3 separate regions of the Homo sapiens genome follow, and regions 2 and 3 are each linked to region 1. The links are contacts of gene promoters, found by promoter capture Hi-C in human tissues and cell types (Jung and others, 2019). All regions are on one chromosome and are shown on one strand. The core of a region is centred on a gene start or on the middle of the fragment in contact, and the rest is flanking DNA. Distances in the headings are between cores, read along the strand shown. Region 1 holds the start of TUBG1 (tubulin gamma 1). Region 2 holds the start of NBR1 (NBR1 autophagy cargo receptor). Region 3 overlaps CNP (2'',3''-cyclic nucleotide 3'' phosphodiesterase).

Region 1 (2,846 bases), core at 141-2,640:
TTGAACCCGGGCAGCAGAGGTTGCAGTGAGCTGAGAGCGTGCCACTGCACTCCAGCCTGGGCGACAGAGTGAGACTCCGTCTCAAAAAAAATAAATAAATAAAAATTAAAAAAAAGAAACTATAAAACAGCCTGTCTTCATTGAAATTTGTTTTTGCTGATAAACTAGTTATGAAATGTCCTTTGGTTTCATGGCTTTCTGGATCCTGGAAAGGCAGATAAGGGACTGTGGACCTGTAGTACTTACTTCTAGGGTTGTTGGGAGATTTAGAAAAATTAATATATGTAAAGCACTTAGAATGACCTGGCACACTGCATTAGCTAGTGTAGGCGCTTGACAATATTACATAGTCCACTCCCTGCAGCCAGGTCTCTCCCTCCAGCATTCATACATCCCTGATCCGGTTTTCCCTCTCTTCGGGACGTCATAGAGCCTGTCCCTACCCAGCGAGTTGTGGGCCCTGCCAGGGAATAGGAAACGACCTGGGAGAATCCGCTGGCCCAGTTGTTGCCAGCTCCTCCTCCATGTTCCGACAGGTAGATGTTCTCTGGGTTGTAGAGCTTGGCATAGGGGGAGTTGAGGATGGAGTGGATCACCCGGGGTTCCAAGTCCAGCAGCACGGCCCGGGGGATGTAGTGCTCATCGTCTGCCTGTCAAGGGGAGTCCAGGAGGGGGCCCAATCAGCTAGGGCGGCCCAAGTCCGAAGTCCTCCCAACTCTGGCTCCCTCCGGCCCTCCCTCCTCAAGCCAGCCGCCTGGCCCTACTGCCCAGCGGGGTTCCCAGTACCAGGCCACTCCCTTCCCTTCCGCCCCCTTGGGCAACTGCCGCCCCCGGCCAAGTCGCTGGGGGCACCTGGTAGAAAAAGACGTCCTTGCGGTCAGTGCCCTCGGTGGCGAACTCCTCCACGATGCCCTCGGGGCTGATACCATGCTCGGCGCACAGCTGTTTCCAGAACTCGAACCCAACTGGGGGGAAGGGGCGGGCAGGGGAGAAAGAAGATATCTAGGTCCGGGCAGGTTCCAATCAGGAGCCGGGGGACTGGGCGCCTGCGTCCAGGGATAAGAAGTCAAGCCGCAGGACTCTCCCGTGTCTGAGGAAAGGACTGTACGCCAGGGACTGGGCAGGGGAGGGCCCCTCGGGGTTGGGCAAGTGGACACTGGGTCAGGGATGTCTCGCCTTTCAGAGAACTACGATTCTGGCAAGGACAGATGGAGTCCAGGATCCCACAGCGAGATCCCATTGACCCTAAGGAACCTGGCTAGCTGAGGGGCCGGAGTTTCGCTCACTCTGATTGCCGCACTGGCCCAACTGTAGGGTGATGATTTCCCTCGGCATCGCTCCTCAGGCACCGGCGTTGCAGCCGCTCCCGCCCGCAACGGCGCCGCACGCCAGCCCGCTCGCCGCAAGACGCAGGCGCCAAACAACCAGCTCCACCCACGAACTTCCTCCGCTCCAATGAGAATCGAGTTCTGGCAATGAATGGCACGTCTTTAAGCACTGGCCTTCGTTCATGCAGATTGCGCGTGCGCGGCTCCGGATGCGGCTCGGCGCCTCCGGATCCGGCTCCGCGCCTCAGTGAGGGCGGGGTACGGCGTCCTCCCTCCCCTCTGGGTGGGCGCCTGCTTGGGCCTGCGCGCAAGCGCGCTGTGGTGCGAAGCCACCTCCCCCGCCGAATCGCGCATCTGCGCAGTTGCTGTTATTGTGACTTGTCGGGCCACGGCCCCGGATGTTGTGGCTGCCGCGGGGAGATGGCTGAGGCCGAAGGGGTTCCCACGACCCCAGGCCCGGCTTCGGGGTCGACTTTCAGGGGCCGCCGAGATGTGTCAGGCTCCTGGGAGCGGGACCAGCAGGTTGAGGCGGCGCAGCGGGCCCTGGTGGAGGTGCTGGGGCCTTACGAGCCTCTGCTGAGTCGGGTGCAGGCAGCCCTGGTGTGGGAGCGGCCAGCTAGGAGCGCTCTGTGGTGCCTGGGGCTGAACGCGGCTTTCTGGTGAGAGAACTGGACCCTCGGAAACCCTCCGAGTCCCGAATTCGTTGGTTCCTCTAGGGCTCTACTTCTCGCCTGCCCTGTTTTCTTCGCTGCACTGGCTCCTTCCTGTACTTGCCTAATTTTGCCTCACCTCCTTCCACTCCATCCCGCCTGCAGGCTTCGGCACCCTAGTTCTTCCCAGGGCCGTCCACCCATCTTCTCTGCCTTACCTGTGCCCGCACCCCCGCCCCGCACATCTGGCGGGAGCTTCTGGTAACATCTTGAGCCGCTCAAGAGTGAGCGAGGGCTCCTCTTTTGAGCCCGACAAAGCTGCGTCCCTTTAAAGCCATCACTTCCTTTCTCTTGTCTGCTCAAGTGCAAGTTCTAGATTGTTTCCAGAGGTTTTAGTAGTTTATTGTTGGAGTAGAGGCGTGAAGTCTTGCAAAGGTATCCATAGGTGTGATTATAAAACAAGCTTGAGCGATTCGCATGAATTAGCATGTTATATATCTAGGAAGGAAGTTTATGAAGTCTAAGCGTCAGTGTGAGCCCCCAAAGCTGAAAATTGAAAGAAAATTACAAGCTTTTAAAGAACAGTTAGGAAATGATGACGGAGATTACACGCGTGTCAAAGCCACCTGTGATTGTAACTCCTCCCTGTTCCAAGGAATTAGAGAGGCATCCTTAGCCATGGTTTATAGGCAAGGAAATTGATGTCTAATACTGTGTGTGAGTTTTCCTGAGCTGGAAAAGTAGCACTGTAAATATGCTTTATTTGTGTGTGTCATGCTCTGTGAAAATGGAACTGCTGCTTCTCTCAGTTGTCATCACCTGAAGTGGACCTAGGACTTCATAGGATCTACCAACCATAATTTTGGAT
Region 2 (2,877 bases), core at 70-2,569, 560 kb before region 1:
AAAAAATCAAGGAAATGAAGTGACTCAGTCCGCCAAAAGTGGGTATTCTGAAATATCACTTTCCAACTTCAAGAAACACACTTCCCTACTTGTGAAGGAAATGAATCTTCCTCTCTTTTTCTCAAATTACACAATTGGAAATTTAGATACTCTGGAGCTCCTCCAGCTGGTGGGCCAACTAAGAGAAAACAGGAAGTGGGAGATTCTAGCTTGGCTGGACCATATCCAGGTCTTCATAAGGAACTCTCTTTGGCTGACATGTAAAAAAATTCTTTCAGCAGGAGCATTAATCTTAAACGTGTGTAAACACCAAAGCTATGGTTAACCCTATCTGCCCCTTAGGTCTACAGCCAGTAGAGTCAGATAGCTGGGTCTTAGGCCTTCAGCTTTCATAACTGGCATTATTGTAAGTCCATGCCACTGACTCACCTTTGCTTGGCACAAGTTAGCTTTTCCTCCACGTCGATTTTTTTTTCAGCCTCAACAAAATCCCTTTAATGAAACAGACCTGGCAACCTGAGCTTTGATTACTGTCTCCACCAGAGGCCTTTACAAGCCAAGTTATCCAGGCTTTAAAATGTGTGACCTGAGGCCGGGAGCGGTGGCTTATACCTGTAATCCCAGCACTTTGGGAGGCCAAGGCACGAGGATCGCTTGAGCTCAGCAGTTCAAGCCCAGCCTGGGTTGGTCTTTGAGAAAGCAAGACTCTGTCTCAAAAAAGTGTGGCCTGAAAGCTGAGTGTTTGACAAAAAGGAAAAACAGTGCCTTTCCAAAACCGAAGGTCCCTAACCAAGGAGATCTCTTTAAGGTCTCGAAAAAACGAGGATGGGATGAGAAGGATGTGTAAGTAGTGTCATTTTTTTACTTGCAGAGTTCATCCTAGTCTTCCAGTTTTCGTTTCCTAGCACTCCATGTTCCCAAGACAGTGTCACTACCCCGAGGGCTCTCTCATTTTCTTTGCCTAGGCCCTCATTCCACTGGGGAGTCGTGGCCTTCCATCAGTAGAAGCCGGATGTTCTGACCCACAGACTCTCCAACTCTCCGGCGCTTCTCGCCAACTCGGTCCCTCTGAACATGAAGGGCTCTCTCATCCTGTCACTAAAAAGATTAGCTGTCCCGAAACACGGAAAAAGTCGCCCCTCTTCTTTGCAGGATTCCTCCCTTGAACTTCCCCAAACCCTCTTAGCGTGACGTGACCCCACCCCTAGGTAACCGCAGCTGCTTCCTTACCAGCTTCCCGCCCCCGGGGGGCGCCTGCCGGAGGCCAATGCAAGGACCGTCCGCTACCGGCTCTGCCGCTATCCCTGTGGGGTGAATCTAACATGGCGGATAAAGACAGTAACTAGTCCCCTGTTTCTCCGAGTGTTCGCCAAGATGATTGGCTCTCACCACTTGTCCCTCAAAACGACCACGCCATTGATTGGTGGAGATTGCGTCGATGGGGCGGGGCAGAAGCAACCTGAACCCGAACAACAATAACAAACATTGAGGCTGAGGGGCGGAACTAGGAGTGCGCAGATGTGGGCCAGAGCGGATTTCCCCTTCCCCAGGCAAATTCGGCGCCCACTGCGTCCCCGCAGGCCACTGACCTTAGAGGACTACTTGCCCGAGACTCGTGGGGCTGGATGGGAATCGTAGTCTTCCTAGGAGTTGTAGGTATCTTTTTTTGGCCTAGTCTCTGCTCTCAAGATAGGAGAACATAACAACACTCCAATCCATTACTGTTGACATGTATAAGCCCGCGGAGGTCTCCAATCTATCCACTGGATTTCCGTGAGAATTGTGCCCGCTTTGGTATTGGATGTTCCTCTCCATAAGACTACAGTTTCCAAGGAACAGTGTGGCCAAGGCCTTTCGTTCCGCAATGCATGTTGGAAATAGTAGTTCTTTCCCTCCACCTCCCAACAATCCTTTTATTTACCTAAACTGGAGACCTCCATTAGGGCGGAAAGAGTGGGGTAATGGGACCTCTTCTTAAGACTGCTTTGGACACTATCTTACGCTGATATTCAGGCCTCAGGTGGCGATTCTGACCTTGGTACAGCAATTACTGTGACGTAATAAGCCGCAACTGGAAGCGTAGAGGCGAGAGGGCGGGCGCTTTACGGCGAACTCAGGTAGAATTCTTCCTTTTCCGTCTCTTTCTTTTTATGTCACCAGGGGAGGACTGGGTGGCCAACCCAGAGCCCCGAGAGATGCTAGGCTCTTTCTGTCCCGCCCTTCCTCTGACTGTGTCTTGATTTCCTATTCTGAGAGGCTATTGCTCAGCGGTTTCCGTGGCAACAGTAAAGCGTGGGAATTACAGATAAATTAAAACTGTGGAACCCCTTTCCTCGGCTGCCGCCAAGGTGTTCGGTCCTTCCGAGGAAGCTAAGGCCGCGTTGGGGTGAGACCCTCACTTCATCCGGTGAGTAGCACCGCGTCCGGCAGCCCCAGCCCCACACTCGCCCGCGCTATGGCCTCCGTCTCCCAGCTTGCCTGCATCTACTCTGCCCTCATTCTGCAGGACTATGAGGTGACCTTTACGGAGGATAAGATCAATGCCCTTATTAAAGCAGCCAGTGTAAATATTGAAACTTTTTGGCCTGGCTTGTTTGCAAAGGTCCTGGCCAACGTCAACATTGGGAGCCACATCTGCAGTGTAGAGGGGGGGAAAAAAACGTGACTGCGCGTCGTGAGCTCGCTGAGACGTTCTGGACGGGGGACAGGCCGTGGGGTTTCTCAGATAACTGGGCCCCTGGGCTCAGGAGGCCTGCACCCTCTGCTCTGGGTTAAGGTAGAAGAGCCCCGGGAAAGGGACAGGGGCCCAAGGGATGCTCCGGGGGACGGGCGGGGGAAAGTGAATTTCCGAAGCTAGGCAGATGGGTATTCTTATGC
Region 3 (2,829 bases), core at 137-2,636, 640 kb after region 1:
GGAACAGCTGACCCAGGGAGGGTCCCTCCTGGAGGAGAGAAGGGGAAGTCTAACAGAAGTGAGCACAGCTGAGCAGGGGTCGGTATAGGCCCAGCATCCACTAACAACTGCGGCACGCACCTTCCATAGGCGCTCCAGGCTCAAGTGAGAAACACGAAGGCGCTCAGACAGGGCCACACGGGGACAGCCGGACTTCCTGAGGGAGCCCAGCTCCCTGCACACTGGCTTCCGGCCTCAGCGGGCTGGCTGACCTCTCGGTGCCTTGGCTTCATCACCCGTAAAACAGGGAGAACCAGAGCCTACCTCAGAGTTAATGTGGTTATGAGAGTGACTAGGTAAACAGCCCACAGGGGTGTCCGCGCACACAACAGCTGCTACTGTTGGCACCGCTCAGCTTCCCCTGGGACCCAGACAGCGCCCTGGAGGACAGGGTGAGGTCAGACTGAGGTCAGACTCGCCCTTGATGGAAACCTGCTCTTACACTTTGGTTCCCATCTGATGATATGTCTGCTTCTATCTGATTCTTTGAGACAGCCCATCCCATCTCAGCATAAACGCTTTTCTATTTTTGCTCACGATCCCTTGTCCCAACAGTGTCTGGCATGAAATGGGTAGTTAATAAATGCTAAATGAAGGCATGGTTAGGGATGGTAGCTCAGGTGTTACATATTCATTCCACTATGCTAGGGTGCTGGAACCACAGGAGTCAACGAAACTTAAAAACTCGCCCTCAGGGGAGCTTCCATTTGGGAGGACACTCTAGTGAACAAACAAACGATTGTGCTAACCTAGGCAGAGAAGTGGGAGAGTGGGCTTGGGGGTGGACACTTGGAAGTTGGAGACTGTGGATATGGGTGACATGCCTGGCATTCAGGGATCACTGTCAGTGGCTGTGGGTGTAAGGTGCCAGCTGTGTGGTGCAGAAAGGTCTCGTACCCATTAGCCAATAAGCTTCATTATCGTATGAAACTCCCTCACTCTGGGGCCAGGCCAGACCTCAGACCTGGGGACAGGGATGGGGACCTCAGTGCACCAGGCTCCCTGGGGGCGAAGGACTCCTAGTCTTTGGAAGGTAAAACAGGCTCAGAGAGACCAGAGCAGGAGCCCACTGTGGACCAGCATTCTCCATGAATCTGCAGAAGGCGAAGGTGCTTGGGGGCAGGTGAATGCACAGGCTGGCAGTACTGCCAGGGCAGGCTCCTTAGAACCTGCGGCTGAGGTCTATGCAGCTACGCCTGGGGACAGGGGAGCTAGGAGGAGGAGATGCCATTTTTCTTGAGCTGCCATCTGGTTTTTGGTCCCTGCCTGGCACCGGTACCTATCTTCAGAAGATGCTGCAGCCCCTTCTCCCCCAACCTCCCACCTCCCCCATGTGTCCCTGGGGAAGACTCACATCTTGTTGAGCGTACTCCTCTGCCCCGGGAGCCTTCCCGTAGTCACAAAACTTGGTTGTGCAATGCAGCACGCCTGGGGGTCTCTTTCCAAAGTAGGTGACCAAGTCCATCTTCTCCCTGGGCTCATCCCCAGGGACGACTGCCGGGAGAAAACGGGTGCAGTCAGGGCAGGGGAGCAGGGGCATACCAACATCCGCCACCAGGACCACCGAGGCCCAGCGCAAAACACTCGGACACTAAGCATCACCTCTCCAGCAACCCACTACAGCTCATTCATTGGTTAGTTGGTCAAACTAATGGCAACTTTAGAGCAATAAAAAGTTAAAATTCTCAGGCCAGGTGCGGTGGTTCACACCTGTAATCCCAGCACTCTGGGAGGCCGAGGTGGGTGGATCACAAGGTCAGGAATTCAAGACCAGCCTGGCCAAGATGGTGAAACCCCGTCTCTACTAAAAATACAAAGAAATTAGCCAGGCGTGGTGGCGGGCGCCTGTAATCCCAGCTACTTGGGAGGCTGAGGTAGAGAATTGCTTGAACCCAGGAGGCAGAGGATACAGCGAGCCGAGATAGTGCCACTGCACTCCAGCCTAGGCAACAGAGCAAGACTCCGTCTCCAAAAAAAAAAAAAAAAAAGTTAAAATTCTCTGGCTTTACATTGTATAGATCTTTCCATCTCTTCTCCAAACTCTAAGGCATTTGTAACAGAGGCAGGCAGTACAGGCCAAGGGAATCTAAGATTTACTAGCACCACGTCTCAAAGGGGAAGCAAGTCATGGGAAGTGGGGTGGAAAGAAAACAGAGGGCTGGGAACAACATGGTACGGTGGAAACAGCCAGAACACAGTGAATATCTCAGCTCTGCCATGTACCAGCCATCGGCCTCGGGCAAGTGACCAACCCTATCTATCAATCCAGCACAACAGTTAGGGTGACCATATACCCCAGTGTTCCCAGGACCACCAGGGAACTATCAGTAGTGCCCCATTTCACTCAGGGGCCCATCTGGACAAGCAGTCACAACGTCACCATCAGTTTAATACACACCTTGCAGGCCTATGGGGGGGCCTCCTGGTACAGGAAGGGTCTTGGACTATAATGGGGTGACATTATGGGGCTGGAAGACACAAAGAGGAGTGGAGTATCTGTGATTTTGATTTCCAGACTCCACACCTGTGGCTGTCTTTGGAGTCACTCGCTTTTTCCTGTTATGTTCTGAATTGAGTCCCCATGAGGATGTCTCGCCCTCCACAGGGGAGGAAGGCCTCTCCTGAGAGCAGCCTTGCTGGCCCATTACATTTCTCCTGCTCTAATCCTGGGCAGAAAAATCCAGTTTTCCTTTACAAATAAAATAGGCTGGGCATAGTGGCTCGCACCTGTAATCCCGGCAATTTGGGAAATTGAGGCGGGGCGTTTGAGACCAGCCTGGCCAACATGGT

Evidence for each region. The method cuts DNA at HindIII sites, captures the fragments that hold promoters and counts their contacts. A contact is called where the count stands out against the background at its distance.
Region 2: a contact is called between the fragment with the promoter of NBR1 here and the fragment with the promoter of TUBG1 in region 1, in 1 of the 25 tissues and cell types used here (aorta).
Region 3: a contact is called between a fragment that was not itself captured here and the fragment with the promoter of TUBG1 in region 1, in 1 of the 25 tissues and cell types used here (spleen).

The regions. Positions count from the first base shown.
Region 1 is chr17:42,608,227-42,611,072 of GRCh38, reverse strand. It overlaps TUBG1 (tubulin gamma 1), which reads right to left and starts at 1,390. Exons shown (of 11, transcript NM_001070.5): 1 at 1,287-1,390; 2 at 853-965; 3 at 483-650. The coding sequence starts at 1,335. RETREG3 (reticulophagy regulator family member 3) reads left to right here and starts at 1,699. Exons shown (of 9, transcript NM_178126.4): 1 at 1,699-1,987. The coding sequence starts at 1,749. RefSeq lists an enhancer at 1,708-1,817. The HindIII fragment of the contact is 7,237 bases long and covers 1-2,846 here.
Region 2 is chr17:43,169,656-43,172,532 of GRCh38, reverse strand. It overlaps NBR1 (NBR1 autophagy cargo receptor), which reads right to left and starts at 1,319. Exons shown (of 21, transcript NM_005899.5): 1 at 1,231-1,319. It overlaps LOC101929767 (a long non-coding RNA gene), which reads left to right and starts at 2,130. Exons shown (of 2, transcript NR_110868.1): 1 at 2,130-2,407. LOC124900391 (a long non-coding RNA gene) reads left to right here and starts at 1,569. Exons shown (of 2, transcript XR_007065760.1): 1 at 1,569-2,117. It also overlaps a transcript of BRCA1 not described here and the pseudogene BRCA1P1. RefSeq lists enhancers at 1,179-1,288, 1,609-1,718, 1,969-2,018, 2,289-2,498. The HindIII fragment of the contact is 14,047 bases long and covers 1-2,877 here.
Region 3 is chr17:41,970,596-41,973,424 of GRCh38, reverse strand. It overlaps CNP (2'',3''-cyclic nucleotide 3'' phosphodiesterase), which reads right to left. Exons shown (of 4, transcript NM_033133.5): 3 at 1,394-1,533. Among named protein-coding and RNA genes, the nearest start is that of CNP, 5.2 kb to the right of the region's middle. RefSeq lists an enhancer at 133-252. The HindIII fragment of the contact is 5,813 bases long and covers 1-2,829 here.